2 separate regions of the Homo sapiens genome follow, and region 1 is linked to region 2. The links are contacts of gene promoters, found by promoter capture Hi-C in human tissues and cell types (Jung and others, 2019). All regions are on one chromosome and are shown on one strand. The core of a region is centred on a gene start or on the middle of the fragment in contact, and the rest is flanking DNA. Distances in the headings are between cores, read along the strand shown.

Region 1 (3,835 bases), core at 851-3,350, 240 kb after region 2:
TCCCTCAGCCCTGAAGAATGACATTCCCCCCGGCTCCTGGGATATCTGGAGGGGTTGTAAGCAGCTTGGGTTGGTGAGATAAGGAGTTTGGGGGGCAGCTGATTCATGACCCTGGCCTCCTCAACTGCAGGCTCTTGGTCTGAAGTACTGTAATTAAAGTATGAGAGCCTCGGGGCCCTCACTTCAAGGAGGGAAGAGCATCCCCATGCCTCAGCGTTTGGGGATTGTAGGGAGATGAGAGTCCTTCAGGTGGGACTAGTTCCCGCCATGACCCCACTGCTGGCCAGTGGCCTGAAACGCATCTGACCACTTCTCAGGTTCATGGGTGTTGAGGAGGAGCCCTGTGGAATCAACCCTGTCTGCCTCCTCTTATCCTGCCACTCCTCTTGCTCTGTCTGGATGACTGCCCTTGTTTTTCAAGGGAATGTTCCCTGTCTTCCTCAGCCAGGATTTTTTCTGAACTTGACATCTCCGTTTGTTCAGGGGGCAATCATTGGGCACTTCACTGTGCTGGTCCTTGCATTCTCATGGAGATGCAGAGATTAAAAATTAGTATCTTGTCCACATACTGCCCAGAGTTAGCAAGGATTGCTTTTCTGTGGATTTGTCTCAGGTCGGGCACAGTGGGGGTAGGGTCCTTCTCGAACCTTTTCCTAGCCTAAAGGTTCCAGCTGAATCTTCCCAGGCAGGGCTGAAACAGGAACCATTTTAGGCTTTGCTGCAACCCATGGTCAGTTCTCCAAGAAAAGTGAAGAGGGTTCCACCTGGGGCAGCCCTCAAGGGCTCAGAGGGCCAAAACACACGTACAACATGTTGAGACACTGAGTTTGTGCGATCCCCACACATCTCAGCAGTGAGTATTTCTGCCTCATTTTACCGATGAGGAACCTGAGCTTCAAAGGGAAGAGGTGACAGCTCAGGACCACACAGCTGTAGGTAGGAGGCAGGAAAATAGGGTCTGAGTGCAGGGAACATAGGCTGATTCACACTTCAGTTATGATAGGAAATACCTTCTCCATAGGACATAGGCCAAGCAAATGACTTTGTAACTTCATCCTCTCCATCTGCATAACGTGTGCCCCAAGTAACCAATGGAATCACCTAGAGGGTGTTTAAACTCTCAGAAGTTCTGTAACAGGCTCTCCATCTACATAACGTGTGCCCCAAGTAACCAATGGAATCACCTAGAGGGTATTTAAACTCTCTGAAGTTCTGTAACAGGGCTTTTGTGCTCCTATGCTCAGGCTCACCCCCACACTGTGGAGTGTACTTTCATTTTCAATAAATCCCTTCATTCCTTCTTTGCTCTCTGTGTGTGTTTTGTCCAATTCTTTATTTAAGACGCCAAGAACCTGGACATCCTCCGCTGTTAACAGTAGGACGCATCAACTCCTTAGAGTTGGGGCAGCCAGCATAAAAGGAGGCTGACCTCAGCCCGCTTCATTTACTGCAACGTGAGGAATGGATTCTTTGTTGGCAATATTTTAGATTGAGCTTTTTTTCTCATTATAATACATGCTTAGTAAACAGAGTGGGAATAAATATGGTACATGCTCCTCCTTATAGGAATTTTTTTCCTAACTCTTTGTATGAAGTGGTTTTGTGTTCTTCAACTTTATTGTGAGGATTATGCAGATAGTTTGCACAGTTGACTAGTTATCTGAGGGGAGCATATTTTGGATGTGGGCTATTTTCTGCATTGTGGGTGTTGTATTCCCTCCACACTGGAATTTTTCTGTTTGCTCATTCATTTGGAACAAGGAGAGGTTTATCTGGGCCTGGCTGGATGGGTGGGTGGGTGGTAGTGATCTCCTTAGCACTCTGCCTGTGCCTGTTAAAAGCCCCTCGGATCTGTGCTGGGCCTGGCCACTCTGTGGACACCCTTGCCAAGCTCCACCTTTAGCTGGCATGTCCGTGCTCTTGGGCTTCTCTCTGACCAGGTGATTATTCCGAGAGATGGGGGGTGGGGGGGAGCGGAGACTAACAGCTGACATCAGATTCCTCTTAGTAAAAGGACAGTCTTTGTTAGGAAAAACATCTTGGTGGGTGCTTGAGTAAGAGCCCTGAGGGCATGGCTAGTTGAGGTGGCTTAGCTTGCAGGATGTGAAGGTCTGATGGGAAGGGAAGAGAGATGTGGGGGAGAAAATGGCTGAAGAAATGAGGCTGAGTTGCGGGGTGGGGGCAGATGAAGGGCCATGGAGGGGACCCCTGGAGGGTAGAATGCAGGCAATGTTGAGAATGAGGATGCCTTGATTGACTGGAACTTATTTTTTTTTTTTTTTTACTCTCCACGACCTAATATCCCCAAGTGCATTTTCTGTTCCTATAACAATACCACGGACTGGGTAATTTATAATGAAAATAAATGTATTTCTTATAGTTCTGGAGGCTGGGAAGTCCAAGGGCGAGGGGCTGGCATCTGGTAAAGGCCTTCTTGCCACACCATTCCATGGGGGAAGATGGAAGAGCAAGAGGACACACAGCAAGAGACAGCTAAATTCATTTTTACAACACATGCTCATGATAACGAACCCACTCTGATAATGACATTAATGCATTCATCAAGGCAGAACCCTCATGGCCTAATCGCTTCTTAATGGTTCCACCTCTTAATACCATCACAATGGCAATTAAATTTCAACATGAATTTTGGAGGGAACATCCAAACCAGAGCACTGTTGACTGAGTTTTCATTTTTTATTTTAGTAATTGCTTTTTAAAAAATTTCCAGGGTCTCTGACTGGTTCTTTTTTATAAACTACCTGTTCTTGTTTCATAAGTGCCTCTTCATATGTTATGGTTTATTTCAAAAGTCGTCTTTAGGTCTGAGATTTTGATTATATGTGTTCTAAAGTCCTTTTCTGATTTTTCTGTTGCCTCTGTCTCAGGTGTAAGTTTGGGTTGAGTGGCCTGTTTTCCTTCACACTGTGTTGCTGCCCTGGGCAGGTGATTCTCAGTTGTGCCTTACCTTTACATCTGGAGTTTCCTAATGTTCTGTGCAAAGCATCTGGCCTTAGGAGAGAAACACCACCAATAAGTCCCAGTTAGAGTAGGGATGGCAGAGAAACACTCTGGGAGACAAGTCTGGACTGAACCTGTCATGGCCTGAGGGACTTAGAAAACCTTATTTGGACCTCCAGGGCCTAGAAATTTGCATGGGTCTCCTTCACTGTTTTTTCAGGCTTCAGCTTTCTAATCTATCTCTGTAGAAACCAGTCTTTCATCACGCTTCTTTTCCCTTTTTGAACATCATCTCCTACCTGCCTGACTAGGCCCTAATCCCCAAAATGCAGATCTCTCTCACATTCTGGCCTCAGCTCCGTCGTTGTCATTAGTGCTGTTTGCCATCTGCCCCCGCTTTTGTGCATATGGTGGGGTTGCAGCCCCTGTGGTTGTAGGCCCCTTAGAACTTCCACTGCCAGTGTGAGCCCCTCAACAGCTCTCTTATCCCTGGCAAGGTGCCTGGAAACATTTGAGATCTCTGTTCATCGGTACGGGTCCGAGAGTGGTCACATTGAAGAGAATCCCCCCTTCCCCTGCCAGCCTGAGGTGGGCCTGCAGCATGAGAAAGCTTTGTTGTGTGAGACGTCTGCGCTTCATAGTTGTGTGGCTGGAGCATAACGTGGCCTAATAGAGAAGCTGGCCGCTAGGAGAGGGGTGCTGTGCTAATAAAACGTGCGACCTGCCAGGATTTGGAATGTGGGCAGGCTGTTAGGTGGGGCAAAACATTTGGTAAAGCTCAACTGGGATGACTCATGAGGCAGACCGTGAGCTAAGTGTGCGTATCTAGTGGAGAGGTTGGGAAACAACACTGGCCTGAGTATCGGCCGGAGGC
Region 2 (4,208 bases), core at 1,687-4,186:
TAACAATTCTAACTGGAAATTTTAAAAAATAATAAGCATAGTTCACATTGACAAAAATTAGCAGAAATCTCCAAATCCTGATCAAAATGATTAATAACCTTAAAAAGCTTTTCTATCTGGGATCTTACCTTACTGAGTCAAGAATTAATAATTTTGAACTAATACATAATATAGAGAACTCTCTGCCCATCAAGCAGAGAGTACAACCATTTTGAACACAGGTAGAACATGTATGAAATAGACTATGTGTTAGGACCTAAAGAAGCCTCAATGAATTCCAGAGGCACAGGGCCATGCAGACTGGGCAGCTAGTTTCTGTTTGTGCTTCTAAGTTCCCTTTGCCCATTCTTCAGGAGACCACCCGAAATGCACCATACTCCTTGGGTGCCCCTGACCTCCAGCTTCCCCTTGGGTTCAGCCAAAGCACTACCAGATCAGGGGAAGAGGGAGAGTGAGGTCCAGGGTTTGCTGCCCTGGCTCCCTTCCTAGGAAACTCTGGCTGGCTGCACCCCTCCACCTGAGCCTCTGCTTCTGCCCGCCCCGCTCCCTGCAGGCAGTAAGGCTGCAGTGCCACCAAGCCCCTGGGGCTCTCCGACCTCCTGCCCACACCTTTATCAATAGTCTCTTTATCAAACCCTTCTCAAATTACCCAATTTGAGTGTGCCATCTGCTTCCTGCCAGGATCTTGACTGAATACAGACTTGTTCTCTGACAACAATGCAATTAAATTAGAACCTGGTAACAAAAGGTTATAATTAAAGAAACACTATTGAAAAGTAAATAACATTATTAAATAACCCTGGGTTTAAAAGGAGATCATCAGGAACAGTAGAAAATATTAGATATGAATGATAATGAAAACATTTTATGTCCAAATTTGTGAGACTCAGCCAAGACAGTTCTGTAGAAGGAATTTTGTAGCTTTTAATACAGTAGATCTATTGGAAAATCAGAAGGCTTAAAAAGGAGCTAAGCATTTGGTTCAAGACAGAGGAACAGATCAAATCCAAAGAACCACAAAGGAAGGAAATAATACAGAAAGACAGAAGCAAATGAAATAACGGGAAAGACGTTTAACAGAACTAAAAGTTGGAGCTCTGAAAATATTTAAAAATATTAAAAGAGAAAAATGCAAAAAACAAAATACAGGCCAAATGCATGCCAGTAATCCCAGCACTTTGGGATGCCGAGGTGGGTGGATGGCTTGACCTCAGGAGTTTGAGACCAGCCTGTGCAACAGGGCAAAATCCTGTCTCTACAAAAAATGCTAAAATTAGCTGGGCGTGGTGGCACACACTTGTAGTTCCAGCTACTAGGGAGGCTGAGGTGGGAGGATTGCTTGAGCTGGGGAGGCTGAGGCTGCAGTGAGCCAAGATGGCACCACTGTACTCCAACCTGGGAGACAGAGCAAGACCCTGTCAAAACAAACAAACAAAACCATAAAAAGCCAGAATATAAAGAAAAAAAGATATGCTAGTCATTTAAATATTAACGTGAAATAGATTAATTCCTAGAAAAATGTCTATTGCCTCGAGAAATAGAGAACTTGCCAGATTAAAAAGCATGAGGAAAACGGAGGTGATAAAGACCCCAGCCCCAGAAGCCCAGATGGTTTTATTGTTTCTGCCAGGGTTAGGAAGAACAATTGATTTCTCTTTCATGCCGGCGGTTCCAGGAAATAGTGAAGGAGGAGGAGCTGTCTAGCTGGTTTCGGCGGGGCTGGGGCTGGGAGTGGGGGGCCCGTGTCTTGCAGAAGTGGATGTGAATCTCCCCCAGCCACCTGCAAGGCGCTCGCACGCAGCTGTCGGGACTGAGGTGAAGCCGGCTCTCCCAGGAGTGTGGATGAAATGGTTAACGGCGAGGCCGCTAGGGCAGCGCAGGCCCCTGCTGGGCGCCAGGGAGGCTTAGCCAGGCGACGCCAGGATGCCCATGGCAGGGGCTCGATGGCAGGGGCTGGGCTGGAGGGGACCCAGCCCCGGGGTTCAGGGTGGCCCGAAATCCGTGCACCCCCGCACCGCAGTGCGGGGAGGTTCCCATGGGCGAGCTGCCCAGAGGCTTTGTCGAAGTTGCCCAGCCCTGGGACGGTGGAGGGAGGACGGTGGCGCGCACAGAGATACCAGTCAGCCCCTGGAACTAGGAAGGCGGCTGGGGGCGGGTGACGCAGGCTGGGGTTTGCCGGGGTGGCCCCCGAGCGGCGTGTGACTTGGGGGTCCAAGGAAGTTAAACTGGACAGGCTGGGGTGAGGACAATGGGGGCCTGGAGAGGTGGGGCGAGAGGAGGGCGGGGGGTCCCCACGAGCCGCGGTAGAGGCGAGGCGGCGGGTCCGCGGGCGGGTTGCATCATCCGGCGGGGAGGGCCTGGGTCACTGCTGCTCTTCCCCCGGCGCCCCGGCCCCGACACAAGATGCGATTTCACCGCGCACCTGTTACACCCGGAGCCAGCATCCCTGGCGCAAGGAGCCCTCCCTCCCCAGCCCCGCCCGCCCCCCACGATGCGTCTGTCGCTGGCTCAGAGCGGGGGCAGGTGGACGTTTTACGATTTCACTCGAAAGGGGCCAGGGTGGGGGACGGCCCGGCGAGGGGTCCGCGGGCAAGTTCAGGTGCACGCGGGGCTTCGGGACGGGGCGCCGCCGGGTCCCTCCCCCGCGAGGTCTCAGGGGCACGCCGGGGGAGGGGACGCTGCGTCCGAGCCGGGTGTCGGTCCCCCACCCTCCGCGGGGCCCGCCGCGGTGTCAGCGGTGACGTCACAGCCCGGCCCCGGCCCCCTCCGTCCCCAGCCCCATCCCCGCGGCGGCCGCGTCGCCCGTCCCTCTCCCCGCGCGACAAACCAGCTGGCGACTGGAGCTCGGACGCCGCGCGCAGCCAACCAGCGCCTCGGGAGGGGCGCGGGGCGGTCCGGGCCGGGGGCGCGCAGCCCGTCACGCGGCGGCGCCGTCACAGCGCAGAGCAGCCGGCGAGCGGCAGCAGCTCCGGGCTCGAGAGCCCGCGCCCATGCCAGTGCCCATGCGGGGCCGCCGCCAGTGACGCCGGAGAGGTAAGGCCGCCGCCCGCCCGGCCTCCCGCGCCCGCGCCCCTCGCCCCGCACCTGCGCCCGGCAGCCCGCGCCCGCAGCCCGCACCTGCACCCACTGCGCCCAGGGCGGGGAGCTCCGGCCCGGCGCCCTTGTTGCCGCCCAAAGCGCAGGCACTGCGAGGCCCCTTCACTTCCAGACCTTCCTCCATCTCCGCAGAGAACAATGGGGGAAATTCAGGGGTGTCCGCCCTTCAGGTGCCGCTGGAAAAGGTCCCTTTGCCGCGATCTCGGCTGCAGCGGGACCCTCGGCTTAGGCGGGCGGGGGTCGCCCTCGGGAGGGCTCGCCCGGCCGGCGGGATCGGGATACCCCCGCCCTTCCCCGGCTATTCCGCTTCCCTGGAGAGGAGCCACCGGCGGGGCTGCGGGAGGGGCTGCGCCCAGACGGCGGGGGAGGGGAGGGATGGTGAGCGGGGCTGAGGACGCTGACGCCGCACCTGGGAGGGTGCGCGGCTGCAGCGCCTCGGCCCGAGGGGAGAGCGCGCAGGGCGGCCGGGCGCGGGCAGCTGCTCCGGTTCCCGGGGTGGGGGAGGGCGGATGCTGGAGCCGGGAGCAAAACAGGCGGGCGGGGCGGGGGCTGCGGCGTTGGGGCCTGGCCACCCGCTTCGTTGCACGGCCGGCCTGCCCATCACCCCCTCCCACGCCAGAGACCCCAGCTCCCTTCCAGAAAGACCCAGCACCTGGGAGGGGCCGCCGGCGAGCACTGCCTGCGTCTCAGCAGCCAGCGCCCCTGTAACAGGTGTGGCCCGGCGGCGAGGGAGGGGCTGCGGGGCCGCAGGGTCTAGGCTGGCGGCGCGCCCCCGGCGCCCGGGCTCGGATGACACGAAGGAACAGTGGCCGCGAAGACCTTCGCACTCCCGCTTTAAGCCGCTCCTCACGCTGACTTCCCCCAAACCAGCCGCGCTGCCCTCTCGCTGGGAAGGGCCGGGGCAGCATCCCCGCCGGGAGGGAGGGTCCGCAGGAGCGGGGCGCTGGGCGCCGGTAGGTGGGGTTGGGGGGGCCCTGCCGGCCGCAGGGGCGGGAGGGGGAGGGGAAGGAGGGAATGCCAAGTCATGGGGCCTGCTGGGCGCGAGCGCGACGTCGCCCGGCGCGGACCCGATGCGCGCCCACGTCCCCGGGAATAGGGACTTTCCCCCAGAG

The links. The method cuts DNA at HindIII sites, captures the fragments that hold promoters and counts their contacts. A contact is called where the count stands out against the background at its distance.
Region 1: a fragment that was not itself captured here is called in contact with the fragment with the promoter of KIF1A in region 2 in 1 of the 25 tissues and cell types used here (dorsolateral prefrontal cortex).

What each region holds. Positions count from the first base shown.
Region 1 is chr2:240,580,221-240,584,055 of GRCh38, reverse strand. RNPEPL1 (arginyl aminopeptidase like 1) reads right to left here. Exons shown (of 11, transcript NM_018226.6): 11 at 2,684-3,835. CAPN10-DT (CAPN10 divergent transcript) reads left to right here. Exons shown (of 1, transcript NR_103792.1): 1 at 1-1,306. Among named protein-coding and RNA genes, the nearest start is that of CAPN10-DT, 4.2 kb to the left of the region's middle. The HindIII fragment of the contact is 8,850 bases long and covers 1-3,835 here.
Region 2 is chr2:240,818,947-240,823,154 of GRCh38, reverse strand. It overlaps KIF1A (kinesin family member 1A), which reads left to right and starts at 2,936. Exons shown (of 49, transcript NM_001244008.2): 1 at 2,936-3,033. RefSeq lists an enhancer at 1,950-2,524. The HindIII fragment of the contact is 12,815 bases long and covers 1-4,208 here.